Regions from separate parts of the Homo sapiens genome. Here all the other regions are linked to region 1. The links are contacts of gene promoters, found by promoter capture Hi-C in blood cells and fetal thymus (Javierre and others, 2016). All regions are on one chromosome and are shown on one strand. Each heading gives the region's core, a stretch centred on a gene start or on the middle of the fragment in contact. The rest is flanking DNA. Distances are from core to core; before and after follow the strand shown. Region 1 holds the start of NDE1 (nudE neurodevelopment protein 1). Region 2 holds the start of NOMO1 (NODAL modulator 1). Region 3 has its middle 16 kb from the start of PDXDC1. Region 4 overlaps NTAN1 (N-terminal asparagine amidase). Region 5 overlaps RRN3 (RNA polymerase I transcription factor RRN3). Region 6 overlaps ABCC6 (ATP binding cassette subfamily C member 6). Region 7 overlaps ABCC6 (ATP binding cassette subfamily C member 6).

Evidence for each region. Contacts are between HindIII fragments. The CHiCAGO score rates a contact against its expected background, and 5 or more counts as called.
Region 2: a contact is called between a fragment that was not itself captured here and the fragment with the promoter of NDE1 in region 1, in 2 of 17 cell types (erythroblasts and total B cells). The highest score is 6.3, in erythroblasts.
Region 3: a contact is called between a fragment that was not itself captured here and the fragment with the promoter of NDE1 in region 1, in 6 of 17 cell types (erythroblasts, M2 macrophages, neutrophils and 3 more). The highest score is 9.5, in erythroblasts.
Region 4: a fragment that was not itself captured here is called in contact with the fragment with the promoter of NDE1 in region 1 in 2 of 17 cell types (fetal thymus and total CD4 T cells); the score reaches 6.7 in fetal thymus.
Region 5: a contact is called between a fragment that was not itself captured here and the fragment with the promoter of NDE1 in region 1, in 1 of 17 cell types (fetal thymus). The highest score is 5.9, in fetal thymus.
Region 6: a contact is called between a fragment that was not itself captured here and the fragment with the promoter of NDE1 in region 1, in 2 of 17 cell types (megakaryocytes and monocytes). The highest score is 6.3, in megakaryocytes.
Region 7: a fragment that was not itself captured here is called in contact with the fragment with the promoter of NDE1 in region 1 in 1 of 17 cell types (erythroblasts); the score reaches 7.5 in erythroblasts.

The regions. Positions count from the first base shown.
Region 1 is chr16:15,648,203-15,652,570 of GRCh38, forward strand. It overlaps NDE1 (nudE neurodevelopment protein 1), which reads left to right and starts at 2,043. Exons shown (of 9, transcript NM_017668.3): 1 at 2,043-2,092. RefSeq lists enhancers at 1,744-2,245, 2,246-2,745. The HindIII fragment of the contact is 10,572 bases long and covers 1-4,368 here.
Region 2 is chr16:14,830,205-14,834,572 of GRCh38, forward strand. It overlaps NOMO1 (NODAL modulator 1), which reads left to right and starts at 3,517. Exons shown (of 31, transcript NM_014287.4): 1 at 3,517-3,812. The coding sequence starts at 3,648. The HindIII fragment of the contact is 2,025 bases long and covers 1,188-3,212 here.
Region 3 is chr16:14,957,124-14,961,491 of GRCh38, forward strand. No RefSeq gene overlaps it. Among named protein-coding and RNA genes, the nearest start is that of PDXDC1, 16 kb to the right of the region's middle. The HindIII fragment of the contact is 1,982 bases long and covers 260-2,241 here.
Region 4 is chr16:15,045,674-15,050,041 of GRCh38, forward strand. NTAN1 (N-terminal asparagine amidase) reads right to left here. Exons shown (of 10, transcript NM_173474.4): 2 at 2,324-2,426; 3 at 2,182-2,247; 4 at 1,769-1,877. It also overlaps a transcript of PDXDC1 not described here. Among named protein-coding and RNA genes, the nearest start is that of NTAN1, 8.2 kb to the right of the region's middle. The HindIII fragment of the contact is 4,295 bases long and covers 203-4,368 here.
Region 5 is chr16:15,062,534-15,066,901 of GRCh38, forward strand. It overlaps RRN3 (RNA polymerase I transcription factor RRN3), which reads right to left. Exons shown (of 18, transcript NM_018427.5): 16 at 2,686-2,838; 17 at 663-750. It also overlaps a transcript of PDXDC1 not described here. Among named protein-coding and RNA genes, the nearest start is that of NTAN1, 8.6 kb to the left of the region's middle. The HindIII fragment of the contact is 4,781 bases long and covers 1-4,202 here.
Region 6 is chr16:16,185,282-16,189,649 of GRCh38, forward strand. It overlaps ABCC6 (ATP binding cassette subfamily C member 6), which reads right to left. Exons shown (of 31, transcript NM_001171.6): 13 at 3,550-3,693; 14 at 1,843-1,930. Among named protein-coding and RNA genes, the nearest start is that of ABCC6, 36 kb to the right of the region's middle. RefSeq lists a silencer at 1,119-1,292. The HindIII fragment of the contact is 493 bases long and covers 1,569-2,061 here.
Region 7 is chr16:16,161,772-16,165,567 of GRCh38, forward strand. It overlaps ABCC6 (ATP binding cassette subfamily C member 6), which reads right to left. Exons shown (of 31, transcript NM_001171.6): 24 at 1,222-1,421. Among named protein-coding and RNA genes, the nearest start is that of ABCC6, 60 kb to the right of the region's middle. The HindIII fragment of the contact is 1,170 bases long and covers 1,006-2,175 here.

The DNA of each region.
Region 1 (4,368 bases), core at 793-3,292:
TTTGTGTTACAAGCACTCCAATTATACTCCTTTAGTTATTTTAAAATGTACAATACATTGTTGTGGACTGTAGTCACCCTGCTGTGCTCCCAAATACTAGATCTTATTCATTCTAACTCTATTTTTGTACCCACTAACCAGAATGTTCGGTATTTGTTAATGAACATGTTATGACAGGATGTTTTAGAAGAAAATAAAGAAAAAAAGAAATTCCAGCCAAGCATGGTGGCTTGATTTTATTTATTTATTTATTTTGAGATGAAGTCTCCCTCTGTCTCCCAGGCTGGAATGCAGTGGCGTGATCTCCACTCACCGCAACCTCTGCCTTCTGAGTTACATGGCTCACGCCTGTAATCCCAGCACTTTGGGAGACTGAGGTGTATTGCTTGAGGTCAGGAGTTCGAGACCAGCCTGGCCAACACAGTGAAACCGTGTCTCTACTAAAAATACAAAAAATTAGCTGGGCGTAATGGTGGGCGCCTGTAATCCCAGCTACTAGGGAGACTAAGACAAGAAAATCGCTTGAATCTGGGAGGCAGAGGTTGCAGTGAGCCGAGATCGCACCATTGCACGCCAGCCTGGGCAACAAGAGGGAAACTCTGTCTCGAAAAGAAAAAAATTATTTTTTAATTTTAATTTGTTAGTGAACAATTAGGGTTGCTGTGAGAATTGTGCCTGGCACACACAGCCATTTAAAAATCACGATCTTCAGGCAGTGTGTGGTGGCTCACGCCTGTAATCCCAGGACTTTGGGAGGCCGAGGTGGGTGGATCACCTGAGGACAGGGATTCGAGAGCAGCCTGGCCAACATGGTGAAACCCCGTCTCTACTAAAAATATAAAAATTAGCCGGGTGTGGTGATGCGGGCCTGTGATCCCAGCTACTCGGGAGGCTGAAGCAGGAGAATTGCTTGAACTCAGAAGGCAGAGGTTGCAGTGAGTGGAGATCACGCCACTGCATTCCAGCCTGGGAGACAGAGGGAGATTTCATCTCAAAATAAATAAATAAACAAAATCAAGATCATTTAACAAATACATATATTGTACTTACTAAGTTCAAATTTCTGTTCTAAACGTTTTTACAAATGCTGTTAAGTCATTTAGTCCTCTGCATAATGTCGTTTGTTTGTTTGTCTGTTCTTTAAGACGGAGTCTTGCCCTGTCGCCTAGGCTAGAGTGCAGTGGTGTGATCTCGGCTCACTGCAACCGCCACCTCCCGGTTTCCCGTGATTCTCCTGCCTCAGCCTCCTGAGTAGCTGGGATTACAGGTGCGTGCCACCACATCCGGCTAATTTTTTGTATCTTTAGTAGAGACGGGGTTTCACCATGTGCCAGGCTGGTCTTGAACTCCTGACCTCGTGATCCACCCGCCTTGGCCTCCCAAAGTGCTGGGATTACAGGCGTGACCACCGCGCCAGACCCATAATGGCGTTTTATAGATGGGGAAACGGAGTCATAGAGGCTAAACAACTTTCCCAAGACCACACAGTTAGTAAGGGGCAGGACTAGGACTCAAAGCCAAGTTTATGACCAAATTCTGGTGCACTACGTTCTCCTGCTTCTGGAGAAGATAATGATGCTGAAGATTCTACTTTTGGTGTAAAGGAGTAGGAAGGGCACGGGGCACTGCTAGCTTCAGTGGGCCTGAATCTTTGTCTTTCCTTCTGATTTGGAGAAAGTGCAAGAATGGGAAAATGCAATCGAAGTGAAGGAGAGGCCGGCGTATTTTCCTGAAATGCGCGGCCCGCAAGCCCAAACCCGTTTCCCGGGTGTCCAGGCAGCGTTCTGCAGCATCTCCAATGCCCGCCAGCCCGCCGCAGCCCAGCGCCCGGCAGCCGGCGCCTCTCAAACCCCCTCCGGCCAGGAGCCTTCGCCGCTTGGCCGCGCCGCGCCCGGCCTGGGAAAAAAGTTTCCAAACGACGCTGCTCTGCGCTGATTGGCCGAGGCGGACGCGGTACCGTAGAGCAGCAGCCAATGGGAGGCGCCGACCGCAGGCTCCGGGGCGGGGGCGGGGTCCGGAGGGCCGGGGCCGCACCGCCCTTCGCAGCCGCCTCTGCCGCCGCCGCCGCGTTGGCCTCGCCGCCCCTGCTCGGGTAAGTGAGGCGCTGCGCGGGGCTGGGGTCGGGGTGGCTGTCCGGGGACCTCCACCGCGGCTGAAAAGCTCCTCTGCCCCGCCCCAGGATCCCGGGACCCCGGGCCACCGCCTGGCAGGGACCCCTACGCCCCTCGCTTGCGCGTCGCTTCCCGGCCGCCTGGACTCCCCCGGTCCCTGGGCTCCAAAATCCCGCCTCCCTGGAGCCTCCCGTCCTAAAAAGTTAGGCACTGAGTGCCTTGCCACCGGTGCGTTCCTCGCGCTGGCCCCTCGCCCTTGGCAACTTTGTTTCTCTTTCTGCGTTGGTCTCTCTCCCACCCCGTTGCCCTCTTCTCCTTCCGGGACTTCCTGGGTGGTTAAGCCTTGCCGGTCCCCAAACCCCGCTGCCAGGCTCCATCCTCTTTCTCCTCTTCCTTCCTCCCCATACTCCTCTCCTAGATGACCCTCGTTTCTTTTCTCTCTCTCTCCTATTCCTCCATCCTGCCACCCGCTTCTCTGCGACCCCAGACCCCTCGATTGCAGCGTTGCCCCTGCCCTCACACCCACTGTCCCGCCCCTGCAGGCCTCTTTCCAAAAACCCACCCTGCTCCCTCCCTCCGGGAACACGTTTGGGGCAGTCTGCTCTCCGCTTTGCTCCCGTCTCTGCCGCAGGACGGTTCAGGTTTCTTCTGACAGCACTTTGGGGAGGGATTGGGTAAAGGACGAAAATGCTTATTCCGCAGCTTGAGTGATGGCTGGGCTCACTGAGGACCTGAGTCTCTGAGGTCCTGGGAAACCCCGCTGTCACCTTGACACCGCTTTTGGGGAGGCGACTTTATCTTCTCCGAGCCATCTCAGGCTTTCTGCCTCCTGAGGGCCTGAGCTTCCTTGATTGCTTTGTCCGTGGTTACTACCAGGTTGTGCCTCTTAATTTCTACTTTGAGCCTCAGGCCCCTTTTAACTTTCTAAAGAAAAGGCCTTTGCAGCACGACCTAGGCAGGTTCATCATTTTTAGTTTTGTTATAGTGTATTCTAGCATAGGATGGCATTTTAGGACATGGGTCGGGTGTTTTGAAGATTAATTAGATCCCAGCTACTCCTAAAGCCTCTTGTTACCCGACCACCCCAGCCTCCATCACCTCGTTGGTATACAACCCGTTTTTTTTTTTTTTTTTTTGTTTTTGTTTTTGAGACAGAGTCTCACTCTCGCCCAGGTTGGAGTGCAGTGGTGCGATTTTGGCTCACTGCAACCTCCGCTTCCCGGGTTCAAGCGATTCTCCTGCCTCAGCCTCCGGAGTAGCTGGGACTACAGGTGCGTGCCACCACGCCTGGCTAATTTTTTGTATTTTTAGTAGAGATGGGGTTTCACCGTGTTAGCCAGGATGGTCTCGATTTCCTGACCTCGTGATCTGCCCCCTCGGCCTCCCAAAGTGCTGGGATTACAGGCGTGAGCCACCGTGCCGGCCTACAACCCATTTTGAGCCTTTCCTCTTAGTGTGTGTTTTGTGTAGGATTAAATGCAGATGATCTGTGCCGCTGAAGTCTCAGGGGCCTGTGATTCATATATTTTATCCCATGTTGGATAACAGTTTATTAACTTGACTTATTTTTGTTTCCAAAGTGTGTTATTTATTATTTATTTATTTATTTATTTTGAGACGGAGTCTTGTTCTTGTCCAGGCTGGAGTGCAGTGGCATGATCTCGACTCACTGCAACCTCAGTCCTCCGGGTTCAAGTGATTCTTCTGCCTCACCCTCCTGAGTAGCTGGGATTACAGGTGCGTGCCACCATGCCCGGCTAATTCTTAGTAGAGATGGGGTTTCACCATATTGGCCAGGCTGGTCTCAAACTTCTGACCTCGTGATCTGCCCACCTCAGCCTCCCAAAGTGTTGGGATTACAGGCATGAGCCACTGCACCCGACTCTATCATTATTATTATTTTTTATGTAGAGGCAGAATCTTGCTTTGTTGCCCAGGCTGGTCTCAAATTCCTGGGCTCAAGCAGTCCTCCTGCCTTGGCCTCCCACAGTGCTGAGATTACTTGCAGGCATGAGCCACTGCATGCAGCCCAAAGTGTGTTCTTTTGCCTTAGAATGTGAGCCGAGAATTGACACTCCTTTTCCTCACAAGGTAATTTCCTAACATGAGCATTCCTGTGTACAGAAAGTTTGTGCCTGCAGTTAGTACTACACGTGCACCTCGTGCAATGGATGTGGGTGCTTTTTGTCTGCCTCCTTCAGCAGTGCCCAGCACTTAGTAGGTATTCAAGAAATGTTTGAAAAGGGTTGGAGGAGGC
Region 2 (4,368 bases), core at 950-3,449, 820 kb before region 1:
TGAGGGCGGATCACTTGAGGTCAGGAGTTTGTGACCAGCCTGGCAAACATAGTGAAACCCCGTTTCTACTAAAAATACAAAAATTAGCTGGGTGTTTTGGTGCGTGCCTGTAGTTTCAGCTTCTCAGGAGGTTGAGGCAGGAGAATCGCTTGAACCTGGGAGGCGAAGGTTGCGGTGAGCCAAGATTGTGCCACTGCACTCCAGCCTGGGTGACAGAGCGAGACTCTGTCTCAGAACAAACAAACAAAATGCCATTGAAGACATATATGAATATGAAAAGGTGGTTGCTAAGTGATGATTGAATAAAAGAGATTATAATATAAAATAGGCTTTGGTTTTTTTAAAGCAAAAAAGAAAAGGATATGCCTAAATTAGGGAACATGGAGAAGAAGGCCAAGGCATTTACCTTCCTCTCTTGAGTCTTTTTCTCTCTCCGTCTCTTTTTTTTTTTTTTTTTTTTTTGAGTCAGGGTCTTGCTCTGTCACCCAGGCTGGAGTGCAGTAGTGCCATCATGGCTCACTGCAGCCTTGACCTCCTGAGCTCAAGCAACCTTCCACCTCAGCCTCTCCGGAGTATCTGGGACTACAGGCACACACCACCAAGCCTGGCTGATTTTTAAATTTTTTTGTGGAGACTTGTCTCACTTTGTTGCCCAAGCTGCTTTGGAACTCCTGGCCTCAAGCCATCCTCTTGCCTAGGCCTCCCAAAGTGCTGCGATTACAGGCGTGAGCCACCATGCCCAGCTCTCTCTTGGGTCTTAAAGCAAAGTGTCAAAGACCCAGCCACCACTTCTTAGAAATGACTCGATGTCATACTAGCATAAATGCATCGATAAAAAGATGGAAATGTGGTAACACAGTGATCTTGGGGAATCCTAGTTTTCTTTTCCAATTTCTTTGTTGTTGCAGTGAGCAAGTACTTGTTTCAAGATAGGAATGAAATATTCGGCTCTTTTAGACAGACAAGCACAGGTGCTCAGTTTGGGAGAAGAATTAAAATCCTCTGCACTCTCCATGCTGCCTTGCTAATTCTCGGGGTCCTGTCCTCATCTTCTACTCTTGCCTTCTGCAGGGACCCCACAGCGTGTTTTCCCCGATCTTTTTGTATCACTCTAAATCCAGTATTGGGCCCAGGGAGCACCCCCTCCCCTGCCCCCTTCAGCTGTCCTCCTGCCTGAGTCTTCTGGAAGCTTCGGGACAGAAAGAACCCAAGGATTTGTCATGAAGCTCAGTGTGGCAGGTCTACTGTTTCCATGTAAATCATGTCTGCTTATCTGAGCTGGTTTTGGTGGAAACTGATGGAAATTATGGGGAAGCTAAATCCCTGTCTCTCTGCAAGCCACTCCCCAATCCCACCCCCATGAATTGGCATTGTCACAGTCCTGGTGCTTCATTTCTTTCTATATTTGAAGATGAATTTGAGGGAAATAGTCAGAAAGTCAAGAAGAACACAGCAGAAATCAATTGGGGTGAGTCCAGAACAAAACTTGGGGATCCCACTTCCTGCTTTTTTTTTTTTTTTGAGATGGAGTCTCACTCTGTCGCCCAGGCTGGAGTGCAGTGGCAAGACCTCAGCTCACTGCAACCTGTGGCTCCCTGGTTCAAGTGATTCTCCTGCCTCAGCCTCCTGAGTAGCTGGGATTAGAGGCATGCGCCACCACACCTAGCTAATTTTTGTATTTTTAGTAGAGACAGGGTTTTGCCATGTTGGCCAATTTGGTCTCGAACTCCTGACCTCAAATGATCTGCCCACCTCGGACTCCCAACATGTTCATATTACAGTAGTAAGCCACGGCTTCTGGCCCCAATTCCTGCTCTCTAGCTCCGGGAAAACCTATGGCTGCATGCAGAGTCTTAGACAACTTCCTTTTCCTCTCTGGGCCTCAGTTTCCCATTCTGTAAGATGAGAGGTTTCCATAGGCCTACACTTTCTAATTGGTGGCTTTCAATCCTCTGGTGATTTGCATAAAAGGCATCTATTTCAATTGTGGTTATAAATAACAAACCCCAATAAGTAGACGAATTATTTAAATGGTTTCTCATTATCACTGAATAGTTGAGAGTCTACTGTATTTGAGTGAAAATGCAGCACGAGAAACTGAAATCAGATGCACTCATGATTATGACCCTGAGGTCAATGTGTCATTCCCTTCATTCCCTCCTTGCCCCCATGAAAGTTTGACTACTGTATGGTTTGAACCTGTGCTTCTTAGTTGTTTATTGCTTAAGTTTTAGCCACAATGGCAAATTGCAGCGGGAAATTCAGTCTTACTTTGTCATTTGGAAACAAAATACAAAACCTATCAAAATAAAGCACTAGCTTTTTTTTTTTGAGACAAAATGGAAGAAATCCTAATATTAGGTAAGAAAAGCAATTTTTTGGTGTTTTTTTAATTTTATTTATTTATTTTTTTGAGACAGAGTCTTGCTCTGTCGCCCAGGCTGGAGTGCAGTGGTGCGATCTCGGCTAACCGCAAGCTCCGCCTCCCAGGTTCACGCCATTCTCCTGCCTCAGCCTCCCGAGTAGCTGGTACTACAGGCGCCCGCCACCACGCCCGGCTAAGTGTTTATATTTTTAGTAGAGACGGGGTTTCACTGTGTTAGCCAGGATGGTCTCGATCTCGTGGCCTCATGATCTGCCAGCCTTGGCCTCCCAAAGTGCTGGGATTACAGGCGTGAGCCACTGTGCCCGGCCTCTTTGGTGTGTATTTTGATGTGGTGACTGGTAGTTAAATTCAGTGTACATATGAATTCACTCTTGGGACAAAATATGCTGGATTTGAGCTTGTTTTTAGGCAAATCATGTTTCATCTTGCAGAGCTAATTCAAAGTATACTGACTGCATGCACTTCTTGCTTAGGGGAAGAAAACTCATCAAAATTTGTTTCTAGGCATATGTTATTAGAGCTAGGATTAAAATAAATCTTACATACTTTCTTTAATATGCTAACATTAACACGTTTTGCTTAAAAAAGTATCGATCATTTATCATGGAAAAATACACCAGCTTACACAAATTCTTAAAGCGTTTTTCGTGTGTGTTTTTCGTGTGTGTGTGTGTGTGCGTGTGTGTGCGTGTGCGCGTGTGTGTGTAGAGATGGGGTTTCGCCATATTGCCCAGGCTGGTCTCGAACTCCTGGGCTCAAGCGATCCACCCACCTCAGCCTCCCAAAGTGCTGGGATTACAGGCGTGAGCCACACACCCGGCCCTAAAGCTTTTTGTGAGATTATATATTTTACCTGCGAAATATATGGGTCAGAAAGATTTGAGAAAGTTGTTAGATAATTCCACCAACAAAATCTCCCGTCCTTTCCAGCTGTGATGGTGAATTCTAAAGTAGAATTCATCTTTGGAGCTTCTCCCTGTAGGCATGCACCTTGCGTTGCGCCTGCCAGATGTCGCGCGGAGTCCTCCAGGCCTCTAGAAGGCAGAGATGGTCTCGTTTCCTTGCCGAGCATGCGCCTTAGTTCTCTCTTCTGGGGCTGTGAACGTGGGGTCGAAGCGCGCGTGCGCGGCGGCTCTGGCGGCGGCGGTGGGGCGGGGCCTGGGCTGTCAGCCGGCCTAGGAGGAGGAAGGAGCCTGCGGCGTGCAGTGTGAGGGGCGGGACCCGGCTGCCGGCGGTGGGTCTAGCTGGGGGAGGTCGGGCCATGCTGGTGGGCCAGGGCGCGGGGCCGCTGGGGCCCGCGGTGGTCACCGCCGCGGTGGTGCTGCTGCTGAGCGGCGTGGGGCCGGCGCACGGCTCGGAGGACATCGTGGTGGGCTGCGGTGGCTTCGTCAAGTCGGACGTGGAGATCAACTACTCTCTCATCGAGGTGAGCGCCCGCCCCGCCGCCCGGCGCCGAGTCGCCGGGCCGGTGGTTCAGCCTCTCTGGGCCGCGCTGGCCTCGTCTCTGACACCGGGCGGTGTGGAGTCCTTGGAGCCCTTACCTCTTCCGAGGCTATGCTGTCCGCGGGCTCCCTGCAGCCCCTCCCCAGTCGCGCTGGAGGGGAGGTTCTTATCATGGGGTCGTCTAAGGACTGAGGGGTGCCAGACCTCAGGTTCTTCAAAACCCCGACTCCAGATCCCCGGAACACAGACCCCAGATCCTCAAAACCCAGACCCTAAATTCCCTGGAGCCCAGACTCCATTTCTTTAAAACTTAGACCTGAGATCTCCTCGAATCAGACCCCCTGAAACTCAGATTTCCCCAAACCCACATTCCAGAACCTAGAGACCACATGTCTTATCCCCCAAACTCCACAGCCCAGAACCCCCCGAAGTTCTAATCCACTGCTCCTCCAAACCCCGCGGCATGATTTTAAAGAGCATCAATTCCCATCCCATAGATTCTGACCTAGTAGATCAGTATTGGCAACCCTGGGGCCGGA
Region 3 (4,368 bases), core at 1-2,500, 690 kb before region 1:
TCCGGAGTAAACTTCTGTTAGATTTCTCCCAGCTGGGCAGGCTTCCAGCTCACCAAAACATCTCCTTCTTTGCTTTTTACTTATATCCCCCTTGTATCATTTTTCCATGGCTGAGGTAACAAATTACCACGAATTTAATGGCTTAAAAGAACACAAACTTCTTGTCTTAGAATTTGGGGTGTCAGAGTCTAAAATGGGTCTGCAGGACTGCATTCCTCCTGGAGGTCCTAAAGGAGAGTTCATTTTCTTGCCTCTTCCAAGCTTCTAGATGCTCCCTGCACTCCTTGGCTCCCCATCCAACATCTTCAAAGTCAGCAGCATAAATCTTCCCATCTCCCTTTCTCTCTCTTTTTTTTAGACAAAGTCTTACTCTGTCACCTAGGCTGGAACGCAGTGGTACAGTCATAGCTCACTGCAGCCTCAAACCCCGAGGCTGAAGTGATCCTCCCGCCTCAGCCTCACGAGTAGCTGGGACCACAGGCATGCACCACCATGCCTGGCTGATTTTTAATTTTTTATAGAGACAGGCTCTTGCTATGTCACCAGGGCTGTCTTGAATTTGGGAGCCCGCGATCAGAAGCCAGCATGGTCGGCAGCTCCCTACACCACGTCCGGGCTTCCCGGGCCTCCAGCTGCCCCCTGCGCCGCCGCCGCCTCCCGCACCTGCACGTGGCCACTCCAGATGCTCCGGAGGGATTGAGCACCCCGCGCACACCCAGCTCACACCATCCAATCCGGAGGCCATGGGCCGACATGGGGGCTGAGCGTTTGAAATGAGCCCGGACCACCAGATGCATGGGTCCGTTCACACGAAATACCCAGAACAGGCAAAGCCACAGAGGCAGAAAGTATGGGGTTATTTATTTTAATTAATTAATTAATTGTTTTGAGACGTAGTCTCCTCTGTCGCCCAGGCTAGAGTGCCGATCCCTATGTTAGCTTGATGTGGTGGCTCATATCTGTAATCACAGCACTTTGGTAAGCTGAGGCGGGAGGATCGCTTGTCAGGCCAAGAGTTCAAGACCAGTCTGGGCAAAATAGTGAGACCCCCCTGCTATGGTTTGGATTTGGGTCCCTGCCCAAATCTCATGCCGAATTATAATCCCCAGTGTTAGGGGAGGGACCTGGTGGGAGGTGATTGGATCATGGGGGGAGAGTGCCTCCTTGCTGTTCTCCTGATAGTGAGTGAGTTCTTATGAGATCTGGTTGGTTTAAAAGCATGTAGCGCTTCCCCCTTCTCTCCCTTCCTCCTGCTCCAGCTATGTAAGATGTGCGTGCTTCCCCTTTGCCTTCCGCCATGATTCAAAGTTTCCTGAGGCCTCCCAGCCATGCCTCCTGCACAGCCTGTGGAACTGTGAGTCAATTAAACCTCTTTTCTTTATAAATTACCCAGTCTCAGGGAGTTCTTTATAGCAATGCAAGAACGGACTGATACAACCTCCATATCTACAAAAAAAAAAAAAAATTGTTTTAATTACCTGAGCATGGTGGTGCACACCTGTAGTCCCAGCTACTCTGGAGGCCAAGGCAGGAGGATCACTCCAGCCTGGGCAACAAGAGCGAAATTCCGTCTCAGAAAAAAAAAAAAAAATTAAAAAATTTAAAAAACGTAAAGAAAAAAATTATTTTGCTAAATCTGGCAAAGCCAAAGGGATGAAACTGACATTTACTGGGCACCTTCTGCACAAGTCAGTTCTCCTAGGAACCCAGAGAGGCAAGGGATTGGTAGCAATCTCTAGAGGCAAATATCCTCTAATATCCATGGTGTTCTTTGTGGAGCAGCTCAATGGATTTACTTAATGGGAAATGAAAGAAGGAAAAATGAAGACTTAGAAGGCTTCGATGATTTCCAATGCATTACTGTATACTTATCTCTTCTTAGAAGCAATAGAAAAAAAAATCAGGAATTAAAGACAATCTATTACTCAAGCAAATGCTAAAGGCCTCCCATGGTCTTCAAACAAGAAGAGATGCTCTAAGATAAATTACTTCATTACGTTGATGCTTCATCATCCGTGGAAGCTGTGACTCAGAGCCCTGCAGCAATAATTAGGCAGTGCGTTCATGTCCCGTTAATGTCCCCAAACAGTGGGAGATGAATGGAGAACATAGGGCTGTGTTCGAATGAAAAAAGGGTTTTGTTCGGCGCTCTTTCAGCAGGGAATAAGTACTGATGTGGGAACTGAGCTTCTGTTTACAACTAAGGATCACATTAAAAATATATTAAGATGACTACAGTAAAGCTTATTGTAGCTATTATTATTTCATTTAAATGAATCCCAGTTTCATAAGAACCACCAAGGGGGCTACCATGTCTAAAATGTAACTTCTCTGCGAATCCTGAAATTTCTACTGACAAAAGACTACGATGCACAATTAATTAATTAATTAATTAATTAATTTGAGATGGAGTCCCACTCTGTCACCCAGGCTGGAGTGCAGTGGCACGATCTCAGCTTGCTGCAACCTTTGCCTCCCGGGTTCAAGCGATTCTCTTGCCTCAGCCTCCTGAGTAGCTGGGATTACAGGCATGCGCCACCACGCCTGGCTAAATTTTTTCGTATTTTTAGTAGAGATGGGGTTTCGCCATGTTGGCCAGGCTGGTCTAGAACTCCTAACCTCAGGAGATCTGCCTGCCTCGGCCTCTCAAAGTGCTGGGATTACAGGCGTGAGCCACCATGCCCGGCCAACACGCAACATGTTTAAGACCAAAAGGACTGTTTTGCAATGAAGCAGATGAATCAACCAGTAAGGCCAACCCCTCAAAAAATGTAGCACTGAAGTTTCTTCAACATCTGCCTCTGAGACTTGTTCATATGTGCAGACACAGAGCAGGAAACTAAAGCAACTGCCTTCCTCTTTGTCACCTGAAATGAGAATGGAGAGAGGCTGGCAAGGAAATGATATGTAATCTTCCCTCCTTCCTGATTTTCTTTTCTATCCTTTTTTTTTTGAGTTGGAGTCTCGCTCTGTCACCCAGGCTGGAGTGCAGTGGCACAATCCCAGCACTTTGGGAGGCTGACGGGGGTAGATTACTTGAGGCCAGGAGTTTGATACCAGCCTGGCCAACATGGTGAAACCCCATCTCTACTAAAAATACAAAAAATTAGCCAGGCGTGGTGGCATGTGCCTGTAATCCCAGCTACTTGGGAGGCTGAGCATGAGAACTGCTTGAGCCCGGGAGGTGGAGATTGCGGTGATCTGAGATCGTGTCACTGCATTCCAGCCTGGGCGACAGAGTGAGACTACATCTCAAAAAAAGAGAAAAAAAAGAAAAGAAACATTTACAATCTATTCACTCTGAAATTTACAGTCTATTTACTCTGAAGCCTGCTACCTGAATGCTTCATCTATGAGATAAAACTTTAGTCTCTGCAACCTCTTATTGTAACCCATATATCCCTTTCTATTAATAATAACTCTTTCAACCAATTGCCCATCAGAAATCTTTTTTTCTTTTTTTTCTTTTTTTTTGTTTTTTTTTGTTTTTTGAGACGGAACCTCGCTCTGTCGCCCAGGCTGGAGTGCAGTGGTGCGATCTTGGCTCACTGCATGCTCTGCCTCCTGGGTTCACGCCACTCTCCTGCCTCAGGCTCCTGAGTAGCTGGGACTACAGGCGCCCGCCACCACACACCACTAATATTTTGTATCTTTAGTAGAGATGAGGTTTCACCGTGTTAGCCAGGATGGTCTCGATCTCCTGACCTTGTGATCCGCCTGCCTCGGCCTCCCAAAGTGCTGGGATTACCGGCATGAGCCACCGCGCCCAGCCCAGAAAATTTTTAATCTATCTATAACCCAGACCAAACCAATGTAAATCTTTAAATGTATTTGACTAATGTTTCATGCTTCCCTAAAATGTATAAAATCAAGCTGCGCCCGGACCACCTTGGGGATGTGCTCTCTTGCTGCTACGCTTTCTGCAAATTTTCCATACAATTTTTCTTTTTCTTTTTTTTTTTTCACACAGAGTCTCACTCCATTGCCCAGGCTGGAGTGGAGTGGCACGATCTTGGCTCACTGCGACCTCTGCTTCCCAGGCTCAAGTGATTCTCCCACCTCCGCCTCCAAAGTAGCTGGGACTACACGCCCAGCTAATTTTTGTGTTTTTTGTAGACAGGGTTTCGCCATGTTGCCCAGACTAGTCTTAAACTCCTGGACTCAAGCAATCTGCCCTCCTCAGCCTCCCAAAGTGCTGGGATTACAGGCAGGAGCCACTGCACCCAGCTAGAAGAGGGAAAGTTTAATATAGTTGATTCTCATTATTCAAGATAGTTACATTCAAAAAAGTCACCAAGGACACTGAATTGGTGAATATTGAATCATTTGCTCTAAAGGAAATGCAGGATTGGGTGTCTCCAAGCCTCT
Region 4 (4,368 bases), core at 1,100-3,599, 600 kb before region 1:
ACTGCGCATTGCACAGTGAAGCTCTTGAGAAGTCCTGCGACTGAAAAATCCAACTAACTTTCTTGAACCCAGTGTTTCCCACACTCATCTACTAACCCCCTTTTCCACAGCCCGTCAAGTGGGCGAATTCACGCTCGGCAAAGTGTTGCCAGACTTTACGCTGCCTTCTCAGACACAAAATCTTCCTAAGGGATGAACCAGAAGCTTGGATGTACCCAACATAGGGCACAGCCTCAAGGGGCCTCATAATAAACTCCAAGTAGTAGCAGTAAGGAGAGCTGCGACCACCATGGCTTTGCCACTGGGCCACCAGGTTTGCCTCTGACTCCCTGAGCGATCACAGTTCTACAACAGATCAGGAAGAGCTGACAAGCACGTTCTGAGAACCACGGAGCAGAGTGTGTGGCAACATAATGGCATTGATTACGTCCCCCTGCGGGGGCCAAGATGATAGGAAAATGAAAATACCATTTTGGGCCTGCATGGGTCACGTGTCCATGAAGCCAGCCCAGCCTTGGCACAGACCACAGAGGGAGAATTTAGAATCGACCAGTATTGACTAGCAAATCTCTCCCAGAGAACTCTCTCTTTCCTTTTTAGACTCCTAGGATTAAGCCTTCGTATATGATGGGAGTAGTTCACTCAATGGCTGCCTTAGACTTCCAGTAAAATGAGAGCAACACCTGCCAGGTCTCCACAAAGAGCAAGGAGAGGGGACAGGTGTGTGAACAGTGGTCTTGACAGCAGGCCTGTGTCGTCGGCCTCCACCTAGCTCCTGTGTGCTCCAGCACATCGAGCCTCAGTTGCCCGTCTCTGTCAAATGGAGGCAGCGGCTACTTTACTGCAGTGAGAGAGGATGAGGTGCTGTGGGGGCACCCAGGCTAGAGGCCGCTTCTTATCCAGCAATCCTTGGGGAAACTACCAATCTGCTGGAATTTAAAACTATACCCCTCAGCTGGGAGGATCACTTGAGCCCAAGAGTTTAAGACCGGCCTGGGCAACTTGGCAAAACCCTGTCTCTACCAAAAAAAAAAAAAAAAAAAAAAAAAAAGCTAGCTGGGTATGGTGGTGTACACCTGTGGTCCCAGCTACTTGGGAGGCTGAGGTCGGAGAATCACCTGAGTCCACAAAGTCAAGGCTGCAGTAAGCTGAGATCACACAACTGTGCTCCAGACAGGGCGACACAGCAAGACCCTATCTCAACAACAAAAAGAGAACAAGAAAAAAAACTACATGCCTCGCCCCCTAGCGGTCCCCACATCTTCCTGGCCTCGTTTTCTCCACAGCCCCGCCTCACCACCCAACACCCCATCTTGTGTACAGTCTCTCGGCTTCGGAATACAAACACCTTGGGCCGGGCTTTCTGTCTACTCTTCACTGCTGTGTCCCTAGAAACTACAAGGTGTAGGTGAGAGGAAGCATTTAACAAGCAACTGCGGGAGGAATGACTGCATGGAGAGCTACCACACCCGGGGGAGAGCAAAACGATGTGAAAATCGCAACCTCGACGTTCCTGAGACGACATCAAGTTCAAAGTCAAGCCTTCCATCTCAAATCCAGCACAGACTCCTTGCCTGTGCCCAGCACCCACTCATTCACTCAACCACTGCTGACGCAGTGCCCACGTCGTGCCAGGTTCTGTTCCAGGGGAACGAGGCAGACACGGCAGTGGTGGCATCCTGTGTTCCCCTAACAGCTTCCACAGCCACGTCCTGTATGCGACGGTTCCAAGATCTCAATTCACCTATGAGAGCAGCGTAGATCTCACCTTCCACATTGAGCGTGGTCAGAAAAGGATTTTATGGAGTTCATGATCAAGGGGACCTCAGCTTTGGTGTCGGTTCCGTCACAATGTGTCAAGCAGGTGGCCCCATTACCTGAAGAACAAGGGTGAAAGGACTCAAGTTATTCCCTGATGCGAGTGCAGTGCGCAGGCCGAGACTCCGCCTGTCCCTCCGGACCGCCTCATCTTTGAATATCCTGTAGGGGAAAAACGGACAGGTCTGTGCTCCCCAGCCAACCCATTCTGACCAGGACACCAGGGAGACACCATGCAGACCAGAAAAAAGGTAAGCGGAGTCCGCTTCCAACAAGACACCAGGAAACTCAACACGAGAAATTCAATGGTCCCAAAGGTTGGGTCAGTTTAAGTAATGGTTTCCTTCACCTCTCTCATCATACCTGTGTGCCTCAGGACCACAATGTGACAAGTAGTGGCATCATCAGAACCCAGAATGGAGATGGAGCCTGTTTAAAAAAGAAATAAAATAAAATATCCAATAGCCTTTTGGGATAACGCCCAATTCACTGCTTCCTAACCTACCATCCTTTGGGGAGGTCACTGCAAGCTCTCTTTGCTGAACATACAGAAGGCCCTGGGGTCCCACTTGTTGAACAGACTGACCTCTGAGAAGTCTGGCTCTTTCCTGTTTAATTAAAAAAAAAATAAAATAGTGATGTAAATTAGTGAGGATGGAAAAACTAAAGATGTGGAGAGAGCCAAAGTGGGCTCTGCGTGGGCAGCACGCTAGTGTGTGGGGAGTGTGTTAGTGGACAGAGAGGCTCAAAGAAAAAGGCAGCAGCCACGGTCATTCAGAACAATGCAGAGAAAACGATGCGGTTCTGCGCGGTGGTTTTTTTAACCTATGAAATCGGATGTCATAGTAACCTATGAAATGAGATGCAAAAATCCTTTATTATAGTTTTTTGTTTGTTTGTTTGTTTTTTAAAGACACAGGGCCTCACTATGTTGCCCAGGCTGGTCTTGAACTCCTGGGCTCAAGCAATCTTCCTGCCTTGGCCTCCCAAAGTGCTGGGATTACAGGCATGACCCACCACACCCAGCTATCACAGTTCTTTACTAAAGAGTGTGAGACTCTTAACAATTTTACCATTGTAAAGAGAATCAGATTACACAGGAATAGTGGATGGATGGCTCTGAAATCACATCCCCTCTTTTTTATTTTTTGAGACAGTCTCTCACTCTGTCACCCAAGCTGGAGTATAGTGGTACAATTTCAACTCACTGCAGCCTCCACCTCCCAGGCTCAAGCGATCCTACCACCTTAGCCTCCCAAATAGCTGGGACTACAGGCTTGCACCACCACACCTGGCTGAGTTTTATACTTTTTGTAGCGACGGGGTCTCCCTATGCTCCCCAGGCTGGTCTCAAACTCCTGGGCTCAAGCAATCCACCCACCCTGGCCTCCTAAAGTGCTGGGAGTACAGGCACACACCACCACACCTGGCTGATTTTTATACTTTTTGTAGAGATGAGGCCTCCCTATGCTGCCCAGGCTGGTCTCAAACTCCTGGGCTCAAGCAATCCACCCACCCTGGCCTCCCAAAGTGCTGGGAGTACAGGCACACACCGCCACACCTGGCTGAGTTTTATACTTTTTGTAGCGACGGGGTCTCCCTATGCTCCCCAGGCTGGTCTCAAACTCCTGGGCTCAAGCAATCCACCCACCCTGGCCTCCCAAAGTGCTGGGAGTACAGGCACACACCGCCACACCTGGCTGATTTTTATACTTTTTGTAGAGATGGGGCCTCCCTATGCTGCCCAGGCTGGTCTCAAACTCTTGGACTCAAGTGATCCACCCACCTTGGCCTCCTACAGTGCTGGGATTACATGCATAAGCCACCATACCTGGCCTCCGCTTTTTTACCTTAGTCCCTAACCTAGTAATTTCACTTCTGGAAATCTGTCCTAAGGAAATAACTCAAAATATGTTCATCCCTGTGTTATTTCTTTTATCTTATTTTTTTTTTTTGAGACAGAGTCTCGCTCTGTTGCCCAGGCTGGAGTGCAGTGGCGTGATCTCAGTTCACTGCAATCTCCACCTCCCAGGTTCAAGCGATTCTCGTGCCTCAGCCTCCCCAGTAGCTGGGATTACAGGTGTGCGCCACCATGCCCAGCTTTTCGTATTTTTAGTAGAAACTGGGTTTCGCCATGTTGGCCACACTGGTATCAAACTCCTGGCCTCAAGTGATCCACCTGCCTTGGCCTCCCAAGGTGCTGGGATTATAGCATGAGCCACCATGCCCAGCCCCCTGTGTAATTTGTAATGGCAAAAAGCTGGGAGCAGCAATGGAAAAGGTAAGTAAATTGGGCACAGAACCAAGTCACAGCCACTAACTGCACAGTCATGAGAAATGAAAACTATGGGAAAAAGAGTTTTGAAATGCTAATTGAAAAGCAAGATACAAAAGTATAAAAAATGTTTTAAAGAGCTATAAATGTGCCATAATACAACAATGATTAAATGCTTATACCCATAGAGAAAAATACTGGAAGGAAATTTCACCAGTACAACCATGGCTGTGCCAAAAAAGCAAACATGAGTGATTTCCTGTTGCTGTTGTCCT
Region 5 (4,368 bases), core at 562-3,061, 590 kb before region 1:
CTGTAACTGTCTCAGCTCCACCTCATGTGACCTGGAGGGTATGTTGCAACCTGCGTCTTCACCACCCATTCATGAAGATCTATAAAACTAATGTAAACTGCTGGGGCAATTTCAACATGAGTCAACTGGAGATTGTTACTTGGTAAGAATGCGCAAGTGGCAAAGATCTAAATTCATTCAGCTAATTTGTAATTAACCTTCGCTTCTCACATGTCAGTATGTGAAGTGTCTGGTTTAAGCAATTTATCCAAAAAAGCCATAGACTCTTTAAATAACAACAAAACCTGGGCCTGGAATTTTATAAAGGCAGAATGAGTAAGACACGGTTTTGGTGTGCTTTTTTAAAGAAAACAGGGTCTTGCTCTGTTGCCCAGGATGAAGTGCCATGCTGCATTTACAGCTCACTGCAGCCTTGACCTCCCACCTCAGCTTCCAGAGGAGCTGGGATTACAGGTGTGCACCACCACGCCCAGCTAATTAAAAAAATTTTTGTAGAAACAGGGTGTCACTGTGTTGCCCAGGCTGGTCTCCAGCAATCCTCTGGCCTTGACCCCCTAAAGTGCGGGGATTACACGCACGAACGACTTGCCACTTACTATCTCACTGTGACCTGGAACCAGAAAGGAGATTCCGAGAGTGTGCTCAATCAATCACAAACTGACCTTTTTCATGGGTTTCTTGAACTCCTGTAGCTCTTCAGCACTCATGTCTTCCCACACCTGATAAATAGGATCAATGAATTTCTTTGACCTGTCAACAAAGATCACATTTCAAAGTCAAGTTAAATACTTCGGCAGAAGTCAAAATTGGTTTGGATCTTTTCTCACAAGATCTATTACCCAAAACCAAGAAGTGAAAACTACAGCTTAAATAATTACATTTAAAAAAAACCTGGCTGGGTGCAGTGGCTCACGCCTGTAATCCCAGCACTTTGGGAGGCTGAGGTGGGCAGATCATGAGGTCAGGAGATCGAGACCATCCTGGCTAACACGGTGAAACCCCATCTCTACTAAAAATACAAAAAATTAGCCGGGTGTGGTGGCGGACACCTGTAGTCCCAGCTACTCGGGAGGCTGAGGCAGAATGGCCTGAACCTGGGAGACGGAGCTTGCAGCGAGCCGAGATCGCGCCACTGCACTCCAGCCTGGGAGACAGAGCAAGACTCTGTCTCAAAAAAAAAAAAAAAAAAGAAAAAAACAAAACAAAAAAACAACCCTCTATGTAAATGCTGTAACTAATGTGGCTCTTTCTGTATAAGAGTTCATTCACTCATGTCGATGGAGTATTGAACTACCGTTTTTCATCTTTCCATTTTCATGTGAAATTGTTTCTAAACTTTACAAAGACTCACAAGTCAGTTAGATACAGTATATCCAAATGGAAATGAAACCGTAATATTCTGGAACTCTCTTTTTTATATTTCTGTAGTAATTTGCTGAAAAGTAAGTCTAGGAAAAACAACTAATCTGGTTTCAGTCAACCAAGACTTCAGGGACCAGACAATCCCAGATGGTCATGATGCTGCTAGTTATTTTAGAAACCATAATAAGCAAAAATCCTGCTTCCTTATACAAGTGCCAAGTTAAGGCTGGCCCAGTGGTTTTCTAGAACAACTCATCTAGATAAATCGCTTTTTGTTTTTTTTTTGTTTTGTTTTTCTGAGACAGAGTCTCACTCTCTCGCCCAGGCTGGAGTGCATTGGTGCAATCTCGGCTCACTGCAACCTCCACCTCCCGGGTTCAAGAGATTCTCCTGCCTCAGCCTCCCGAGTAGCTGGAATTACAGGCGCCACCACCACACCCAGCTAATTTTTGTATTTTTAGTAAAGACAGCGTTTCACCATCTTGGCTAGGCTGGTCTTGAACTCCTGACTTCAAGTGATCCGCCCGCCTCAGCCTCCCAAAGTGCTGGGATTACAGGCATGAGCCATTACGCCCAGCCAATCGTTTGTTTTTCGTTTATCCTGTGCAACAGAATGGTATGTGGTCTCTAGAGGAAGGAACAAGACACTTGGCAGAAAATTATGAAGCAAGAAAAGACAGCACCCTCCCCTATCCTGGCACCATTATCCCCATTAACCTTACATGTTTAAATAACAGTTTAAAGAAAAACAAAAAACAAAAAACCCTTGATGTCAGTCTGGCTCCTAGTGAGGCAAAGATCTACCCACTCTGGGGTGCCTGCGCCACTCGGCAAGTCCTGCTAGGCATCCTCTACTTTGCATCTGGTGAAATATACGCAGGGAGACCACGAGATGCTCATCAACAGCGAGGAAGGGCCACTTCTGGTGAAGAGCCCTAAATCCCAATTTTGGGAAAAGCAAACATGTATCACGTTTAAATCCACCTCCTGGCCGGGCGCGGTGGCTCACGCCTGTAATCCCAGCACTTTGGGAGGCCGAGGCGGGCGGATCACGAGGTCAGGAGATCGAGAACATCCCGGCTAACACAGTCAAACCCCGTCTCTACTAAAAATACAAAAAATTAGCCAGGCGTGGCAGTGGGTGCCTGTAGTCCCAGCTACTCGGGAGGCTGAGTCAGGAGAATGGTGTGAACCCGGGAGGCGGAGCTTGCGGTAAGCCGAGATCACACCACCGCACTCCAGCCTGGGCGACAGAGTGAGACTCCGTCTCAAAAAAAAAAAAAAAATCCACCTCCTCCAGCGTCAATGTTTAAAAGTACCTACCTCTTCAGCACACAGGGATCAAAGGGGAAGAAGGTGTCCAGCGGGTTTGTGCAGATCTGCACTGAGTCTCCTCCAGCGGTACTCCTAATGACTGGCAGCATCTGGCGATTGTTCCTCTCAATGATGGTGTAGCAGAAGACGAGCTGGTACTTACTGTGGAACAAAAAAACAACACAGACAGAGGCATTAACATGCTGGAGTGACTCGGTGCAGATGTGAGCTGCGTGTGACAACTGTACCTACCACAGAGAAATTGCTGAATATAACAAGTGCTAGTAAAAATAACAATATAAAGCAGAAAGTAACACTTTTAGGGTACCGTTCTATGGGTCTTCTATTTGCAAGTTTGCTAAGGAGAAAGAAAACGTGGCTATCACTCAGAATGTGAAACTGGGCTTATATTTTAATGAGTAATAGATATTATTCATTATATTTTAATGAGTAATAGATACTATTCATTAAAAATAAATGTTTGCAAGGCAAAACTCTTAGATTACGTAACTATAGGTGTCTTTATTTTTACTGTTTGCAAAAGAATTAGAAGGTTGGTGGTAAAGGGATTCAGGAGTTACTCAGGAGGAAATAGTGGTTGGTGAAGAGACTTGCTGAAGAAGCACTGAAAAAGAAATAAGCCTTTACTGAAGGAGGGACACGGGGTTGACTAAGTCATGACCTCAAAAACAGGCACAGAAAGGACTAGGCATGCCGAGTGAGAACAGTTAAATGCATAGAAGAAAACATAAAATAAAGACAATTATGTTTTTAATTTTTCCAGTAGTTGTCTCTAAATGATTGAGCAACTTGAAAAATTATCTATTGGACAGCTTCTCCAAGATGAGGACTCAGATCTCACTTCTGTCACTCTCCATCTCAGGTTCTCAGGTCACCATGGCAACTTCAAGCCACATACTTTGATTTCTGTCCTGTTAGCCAAGGCTCACAGCACTTGACCCCTCCTCCTGGTGGAGGACACATCAGCAAAACCACACTGGAGGGTGGTTTGCACTATCAGGTAAAGTTGAAGATCTGCATCTCCTACAACCCCGCAGCTGACCGCACTTCCGGGTGTGTGACAAGGAAGCATGTGCCCACACACAAGAATGTTCCTGAGCACTAAAACACTAACACAGCCGGCTGGGCACGGTGGCTCACACCTGTAATCCCAGCACTTTGGGAGGTTGAGGCAGGCGGTTCACTTGAGCTCAGGAGTTTGAGACCAGCCTGGTCAACATGATGAAACCCCATCTCTACTAAAAATACAAAAATTAGCTGGGCGTGGTGGCAGGCGCCTGTAGTCCCAGCTATTCGGGAGGCTGAGGCAGGAGAACTGCATGAGCCTCGGAGGTGGTGGTTGTAGTGAGCTAAGATCACGCCACTGTACTCCAGCCTGGGTGACAGAGCAAGACCTTGTCTCAAATAAAAAAAAAAAAAAAGACAAAAACTAACAGATGAAATCCCAACAAAGACTCAATAAAAAAGATTCCCAGAACATAACACAGCAGTTAAAATCAAAATAAAGCTTTGTGTCAATATGGTTCAATCTCAAAAGCATCAAGCAGGCAAAAGCAACAGCTACAGAATGGTACACGCCTTTATTTACCATATCTGTACCTAGGCAGAGACTTTTATTTCAATCCCCTGCTCTTAGCCTCACATCGCATCACACTCTGTGCCTCCAATGCG
Region 6 (4,368 bases), core at 565-3,064, 540 kb after region 1:
CCTGCTGCCTTTTCTTATAAATAAAGTTTTATTGGAACACGGCCACATCCATTCATTTCTCTATTTCATGCTTTGAGCAGTTGTGACAGAGACTGTGTGGCCCACAGGCCTAAAATATGCACAATCTGGTCATTTATGGAAAAAGTTAGTGAATTTCTGAAATAAATTATCATCAAATCCCAGCCTTCCCAGAGTGAAGGGGGTGTTATTAATTTCACTGTGGCCGGCACAGTGTCTCATGCCTGTAATCCCAGCACTTTAGGAAGCAGAGGTGGTAGGATCACTTGAGGTCAGGAGTTTGAGACCAGCCTGGCCAACATGGCAAAACCCTGCCTCTACCAAAAAATACAAAAATTAGCCAGGCGTGGTGGTGGGCGCCTGTAATCACAGCTACTTGAGAGGCTAAGGCAGGAGAATTGCTTGAACCCAGGAGGCGGAGGTTGCAGTGAACCAAGATTGCACCACTGCACTCCAGCCTGGATGACGGAGTAAGACTGTGTCTCAAAAATACTACTGCTACTACTACTAATTATTATTATTATTTCACTGTGATAACAAGTGTAATTAGATTAGTGGTTCTTGATCCTTAAGACGTAGTTAGAATTGCCTGAAAGATTTTCTAAAAATCAAAGCTCTCATGGCTTAGCCCAGATCAATTAAATTCATCGTCACAATTAGCTGCTATAACGATTAACATGCCCATTTTGGAGATGGGAACACGGAAGCTCAGAGAGATGATCTACTTGTCAGGATCACCCAGCTAGTCAGTGCTGGGGCTGGGATTTGGACCTGGGCAGTTGAATGCCACAGGCTCGGCTTCTTACCACTATGTGGGTGTTTTCCAGGTACACAGTTTGCCCAGGTTCTTCAGTGCAACAAGGGGGAGGGTGTCTTGGCCCGTGGCATAAAAGAAGGATGGGGTGGAGGGGGAAGCCCAGGTAACTTGAGCTTGGTAAGTCTCATCGTGCAATGGTGCTTGAAATGCTGCTATTTTCCAGCTTGATCAAAATGCTGTCATGCTTATTACCTGGGACTTTCTGCATGAGGACAAGGACCTGGTCTGTTAGAGCAGGAGTCCTCAACCCCCAGGCCACAGACTGGTACCAGTCTGCAGCCTCTTAGGAACTGGGCCATACAGCAGGAGGTGAGCGCAGGGCAGGTGAGCAGAGTGTCATCTGTGTTTATAGCCACTCCCCATCACTCCCATCACCGCCTGAGCTCCACCTCCTGCCAAATCAGCAGCAGCAATAGATTCTCAAAGGAGCACGAACACTTGTGAACTGTGCATGTGAGGAATCTGGGTTGCGTGTTCCTTATAAGAATCTAATGCCTGATGATCTCTGTCTCCCATCACCCGCTTTGGGGCCATCTAGTTGACGGAAAGCAAGCTCAGGGCTCCCACTGGTTCTACGTTATGGTGAGTTGTATAATTATTTCATTATATAGTACAATGTAATAATAATAAAGGGCACAATAAATGGAATGTGTTTGAATCATCCCAAAACCACGCGCCTCTCCCCGGTCCGTGGGAAAACTGTCTTCCACAAAACCAGTCCCTGGTGCCAAAAAGCTTGGGGACCACTGTGTTAGAGTGTTCCCTGTTGTACACCCAGGATGGTACAAAGTGGGCGCTCAGTGAGTGGTCGCTGAATGGCTAGCAGAAAGAAGAGCAGCACGGTGCCAGTTTCCAAGTGACACGCAGATGGCGTGATCTGCACGTGTCATCCATTGCCCGCAGCCCCCATCTCCCCCCAGTACTGATGCTGGCTTGCCATTATGGGCTGGGGTGGCCCCCACATCCCCCATCCCTCCCACACCCCTCCTGCCAGACTCAGCACTCACCGCTTCCAGAGGAACTTGAGTCTACGACACCAGGGTCAACTTCTTCCAGGCAGAGGAAGGTGACCAGACGGTCAAAGGACACCCGGGCCTAGGAAAACCGAAGCCGCAGGTCACCCAGCAAGAAGAGCAAAGAACTCAGGTTTTGGGTGTCGGTGTCTCAAGATGTGTGGCAACAGCTTCCTGTCTACCAAGCTCTGTGCATAGGAGGCGTGAGGACAAAGCTTTCTAGTTCATGGGAAACGATGCAACCCGAGTGGTGACCTTGATGGTGGTGATCTCCCACCTCTGCGATCCTACAAATCAGTGACACCGAAGCAAGCCAGCTGCCATTCTGCAGACAAGATCTGGGAAGAGGATGGTGGCTTTTCCAATAAGGTTATCAAGCCATTGTGTGGAACAATTTCAAATGTTGTCCACCTGGGGGCGCTCTCTCCCAGTCACAAACCCATCTTTGGGGAAGAAAGAGACCAGTCGTTAAAATAGAGATTAGGCCAGGTGCAGCGGCTCATGCCGGTAATCCCAGCACTTTGGGAAGCCAAGTGCAGGAGGATCACTTGAGGCCAGGAGTTGGAGACCTGGGGAACATAGCAAGACTCTTTGTTTCTACAAAAAATTAAAAAAATTAGCCGGATGTGGTGGCCCATGCCTGTAGTCCCAGCTACTCAGGAGGCTGGGAGGTAGAAGCATCACTTGAGTCCAGGAGTTTGAGCATGCAGTGAGCTGAGATCGTGCCACTGCACTCCAGCCTGGGTGACAGAGTGAGACACTGTCTCAATAAATAAATTAAATAAATAAATAAATAAATAAATAAATAAATAAATAAGGCGGCCAGGCGCGGTGGCTCATGCCTGTAATCCTAGCACTTTGGGAGGCTGAGGCGGGCTTATTACATGAGGTCGGGGGTTCAAGACCAGCCTGGCCTGGCCAACATGGTGAAACCCTGTCTCTACTAAAAACACAATAAATAAATAAATAAGACTGGGTGCAGTGGCTCATGTCTGTAATCAGCACTTTGGGAGGCCAAGGTGGGCAGATCACCTGAGGTCAGCGGTTCAAGACCTGCCTGGCCAACATGGTGAAATCTCATCTCTACTAAAAATACAAAAAAAAAAAAAAAAATTAGCTGGGCATGGTTGTGCATGCCTGTGGTCCCAGCTACTTGGCAGGCTGGGGCAGGAGAATCACTTGAATCTGCGAGGTAGATCTTGCAGTGAGCCGAGATTGCACCACTGCACTCCAGCCTGGGTGACAGAGTGAGACTCCATCTCAAATAAATAAATAAATAAAAATAAAAAATAAAAAACATGGAGATGGCTCAGGTATGCCGCCGTTTCTTGTTTTCACCATGCTGAAAGGACTAGAGATAGCAAAGGAAGAGAAACAAAATCGCTTTGTATAAAAAAGGGAACTGACATGATTGCTTGTATGTGGAATTGCTGGGCAGATGGACAAGTATGCATGTTCTGAGGTGTGTGTGGAAAGGTCTGCACATTGCCCTCCAAAGGCTGACCCCTTCCAGATGTATTTGCTGTACTCTCTGCCCGCCTCTGTTCTTGCCCCTACCCGCCTCTTTTCCAGCTCCACACCATCCCTCTCCCTCCCACTCTGTCTTCCCTCTCCTCTGCAAATGGCAGGGGTAGGGAAGCTGGAGCCAGGTGTAGCCCACGCACTCTCCCAGGATGGCTCCAGCCCTTGCACCCACCTCACCTGGACGAGGGAGTGGATGGAGAAGGGCAGGAAAGCCTGGGCCTTGTTGAGGATGTTGAGAACTGTGAGAGTCACAAAGGCTTTCTCTGCATTCATAGCATTCTCGGCCACCAGAGTGTGGACAGCAAACACCACCAGTGCGACCTGGGGGGTGGGGGGGACACGTGGGGCAACAGTGAGACACGCAAGCATGGATAGGGCAGCCTGGGCAAGCTGTGGTGCCTGCACGGTCCATGTGGCCCACCCGCCATGTCCGCATGTGCTTCCCTCCGTAGATCCCACTCCCAGTCCTGCTAACACATGTCCTCTCCGCAGTCATAAGCTACATAAGGCTCTCTCTAAAGACACAGCGCATTGCTAATGGTGATGAGTGCGCAGCCCCACGGCTCTAGGCATCACTAGAACCTAGGGGAGAACCTAATGCCTCTAGGTTCCAGGCATCGGGGGACAGCAGAGTTTTTGATCTTGGTAGCCCTGTTGTTCTAGACGTGGTGGAACTTGTGATTCTAGAGTCCCTTGGAAGATGACTCTAAAGTTGCAGGCAGGAGCAGCACTTGAGGGCTCTAGGTGTTGGTGCCATTTGTGGTGCTTTTTTTTTTTTTTTTGAGATGAAGTCTTGCTCTGTCGCCCAGGCTGGAGTACAGTGGCATGATCTCGGCTCACTGCAACCTCTGCCTCCTGGGTTCAAGTGATTCTCCTGCCTCAGACTCCCAAGTAGCTGGGATTACAGGCGCCCGCCACTGCAACCAGCTAATTTTTGTATTTTTAGTAGAGACAGGGTTTCGCCATGTTGGCCAGGCTGGTCTTGAACTCCTGACC
Region 7 (3,796 bases), core at 341-2,840, 510 kb after region 1:
TGTTCTGAAGAGCATCCCTGTGTGGCTGCTTTTCTGTCCCTGGAATTTGCCAAGCCATGTCCACCTGCCATTCCCCTGGCCTGAACCATGGCCTCCATGGTTTGGCTCTGTGTCCCCACCCAAATCTCATCTCAAATTGTAATCCCCACATGTGGAGGGAGGGATCTGGTGGGAGGTGACTGGATCATGGGGGCAGTTTTCCCCATATTGTTCTCGAGATAGTGAGTTCTCACAAGATCATATGGCGTAAAAGGATGCGGCAGTTCCCACCTCATGCTCTCCCTCTCCTGCTGCCATGTAAGACGTGCCTTGCTTCCCTTTCCACCATGATTGTAAGTTTCCTGAGGCCTCCCCAGCCACGTGGAACTGAGTCAATTAAACCTTCCTTTCTTTATAAATTACTCAGTCTCAGGTAGTTCTTTTTAGCAGTGTGAAGATGGACTAATACACAGCCCCAGCTGGCTGGGGACCTGAGATGAAAGGAAAAAGGACTTCACATGTATTGAGCACCTAGTGTGTACTTGACCCTCTCCACACTCTGGTACCAGACTGCTTGGATTCAAATCCTGGCTCTGCCAGTATTAGCTGTGAGACCCTGGACAAGTTTCCAAACCTCACTGTGCCTAGGATTTATCATCTATAGAACAGTTTCTTCCTGGTGAAGCTGTTAGCAGAATTAAATAAATTAATCTACATAGATTGCTCAGAACAGTGCCAGGCATGCAGTAAGCATGTTACAGGTCTTACCTATGAGTGTCTGTATTTAATCCTCATATCCACTCCATGAGCACGATCCCAGTTTGACAAATGAGGCTCAGAGAGGTTATGTAACTTGCCTGAAATCAACCAGCTGGTAAGTGGCAGAGCTGGGATTTGAACCTGTGTCTATTTGTGCTTAAAGCTTGTGTTCTTGTTCTTGCTTAGTACCTAAAGATGGCTGAGGATGCTTATATGGCTGCTTTATCACCAAGGCAAAAGAGGTTGATCCAGTTGCCTGGCAACAGAAGCTTCTTCCTGTACCCCCCGCCCACCTGCTGTTGAGAATCTCTCGGTCATGTTCCATCTGCCCACGGTGAGAACTGATAGACTGCCTGTGGGATCTAGCCTCAACTATGTCCCTGACTCTCTGGGTGACCTCTCTACCATACAATATGACCTCAGGTCTCACCCTCTAAGGATATGGATGAATTGCAAGGTCTTCTCTGCCCTGGCTCTTCCTACCTGTCAGCCACCAGTCGCGGGAAACTGATCCTCTGGCTTTCATCTACGCGAGCATTGTTCTGAGCCACAAAGGGGGCCTGGGTTCGGAATGCCCGGACCACTGTGCTGCCCTGGAACGTCTCAGCCATGTGGGAGCAGACAGACGAGTAGCTGGCTGACTCCAAGCGTCTCAGCTGGCATGAGCTAACCACATACAGGCTCTGAGAAGGATGGATGGGAGAGGGAAGAGGAGAAGCCACAGACATAGAGAGGTAGTTTCCAGAAGCACAGAGAGCCCCAAGTACAGGATTCCAGACCAGGATCTGTTAACAGCTTACTGTGTGACCTTGGGCTAGTTGCTTGCCCTCTCTGGGTTCTCATTTCCTTGCAGAATCAGAGTTCTATGGTTTTTTTGAAAATCACCTGGGGAGCTTCAAAAACCTCTAATGCCCCACCCCAGAATGACTGAATCGGAATCTCTGGAAATGTCACCTTGACTTTGGTGCTGTTTAAATAGCCTTCCAGATGATTCTAAGGGACAGCCAGGGTTGAGAAACCACCAATTTAGTTTAAGTGTCTCACTTCCCAGCACTGAGGCCGACTACTTCATTTACGGCTGGTCAGTGGGAGAACAAAACTGTAAGGGGCAATGAAGGCAGTTGGCCAAGTCAGTTTCACTCATGTAACCCAAGGGTTACATGCCAGGTGATGTGCAGAAAATATTCGTTATTTGGTTTGCAGCTGCAGGTTGGGTGCAGCTGGCAGACAGGCAGGCAGGGAGGAACTGAATTTGCTGAACACCCAACTGTATGTGCCAGGCTTTTCACACAGTGTCTCATTCATTGCAGAGTGAGCATTCGCGTCATTCATCAGTTAGTGGTGAGAACATCCAAGGCTCGGGGGATTCAGCAGCTGTCCTGAGTGCCACAGTAAGTGATAGAGCCTGGATTTAAACCCATCTTTGCTTGACTCTAAAGCTTGAGACAGAAACAGCCCATCCTCGGAGTCAAGTGAACTTAGAGAAGACCTAGGACAATTGTCGGGGACAGTGGTAGCCATGGGTTTTGTTGTTTGTTTTTTGAGATGGAGTCTCTCTCTGTCACCCAGGCTGGAGTGCAGTGGTGCAATCTCAGCTCGCTGCAACCTCTGCCTCCCGGGCTCAAGCAATCCTCCCGCCTCATCCTCCCAAGAAGCTGGGATTACAAGCATGCGCCACCACACTGGCTAAATTTTTGTATTTTTAGTAGACGGAGTTTCACCATGTTGACCAGGCTGGTCTCGAACTCCTGACCTCAAGTGATCTGCCCACCTCAGCCTCCCAAAGTGCTGTGATTAGATGTGTGAGCCACCATGCCTAGCCCTAGCCATGGTTTTTATCTGACTACCATGTTTTCTACTTCTGGTTTCCTGTGGGAAAGGGCTGGGTTGGGGTGCTGTCAATCATGGGACCTGATCAGAGAGGTGGTCACATGATGCAGCCTAGTGTATCAGAATCTACTATCCATTCAGTTACTGTGACGAGTTCAGAGATGGACACATGATCCACAAAGGGCCAATCAGAACCTTCCCTGGGATTAATATATGACTACTGAGCTGAAGAAACGTTTTTTGCATGTTGAGTTGCTAAGGTGAGATGATATGATAGCTAGTGGCCATAAGACCTGCCCTGGAAAGAGAGCGTGTACAAAATTAGACCAGAGGTAAGCCAGTGGTTCCTAAACATTTGTGTACATCAGAATTACTTGGAGGGTTAATTAAAACCTAGATTCATGGGCCGACCCACATAGTATCTGAGGCAGTAGTCCTGGGCTGGGGCCTAAGAATGTACTTTGCTAACTAGTCCCCAGGTGATACTACTGCTGGTCCTGGGGTCACACTTTGAGAAGCACTGAGTGAAGATATGGAGAGAGTCACTGTGTCCTGATGACAACTGGGCCCATGCCCCCAAGGAAATATAAGCCATTAAATTCTATTCTTTTGGTTAAGCTAATTTTAGTTGGTTGCTGGTCCCAGCAATTGAAAGAATCTAGCTTCATATAATAGCCTTTGAGACCTTGCAATGCCTTTTTGGCTTCCAGATAATTGGAGAGGAAGAAATTACGGCAGGATAAAAACATTACGCGTGAAAGGCTCTGGCCCTTAATATTTAACTGTGCCGTGGGGCACAGGGGCTCATGCCCTGTAATCCCAGAACTTTGGGAGGCCAAGGTGGGAGGATCACTTGGGGCCAGGAATTCGAGACCAGCCTGGGCAACACAGGAAGACACTTGTCCTACAAAAATAAATTTAAAAATTAGCCAGTCATGGTGGCACGTGCCTGTAGTCCCAGCTACTTGAGAGGCTGAGGTAGGAGGATCACCTGAACCCAGGAGTTCAAGGCTGCAGGGAGCTATGATCACCTATTGCACTTCAGCCTTGGCAGGAGAGCAAGATTCTGTCTCTCTAAAAAAAAGAACTTTGATGTGAACATTTAGAGACAGACACTAGTGGAGATACCAGAAAGACTGTAGTGTCCCTGTCCCTGGGAATTCTAGGAACAGCCCCTAGATGTCCAGCTGGGTGAAACCTCATATATGGAGTCTTCCCCAGAGACAGG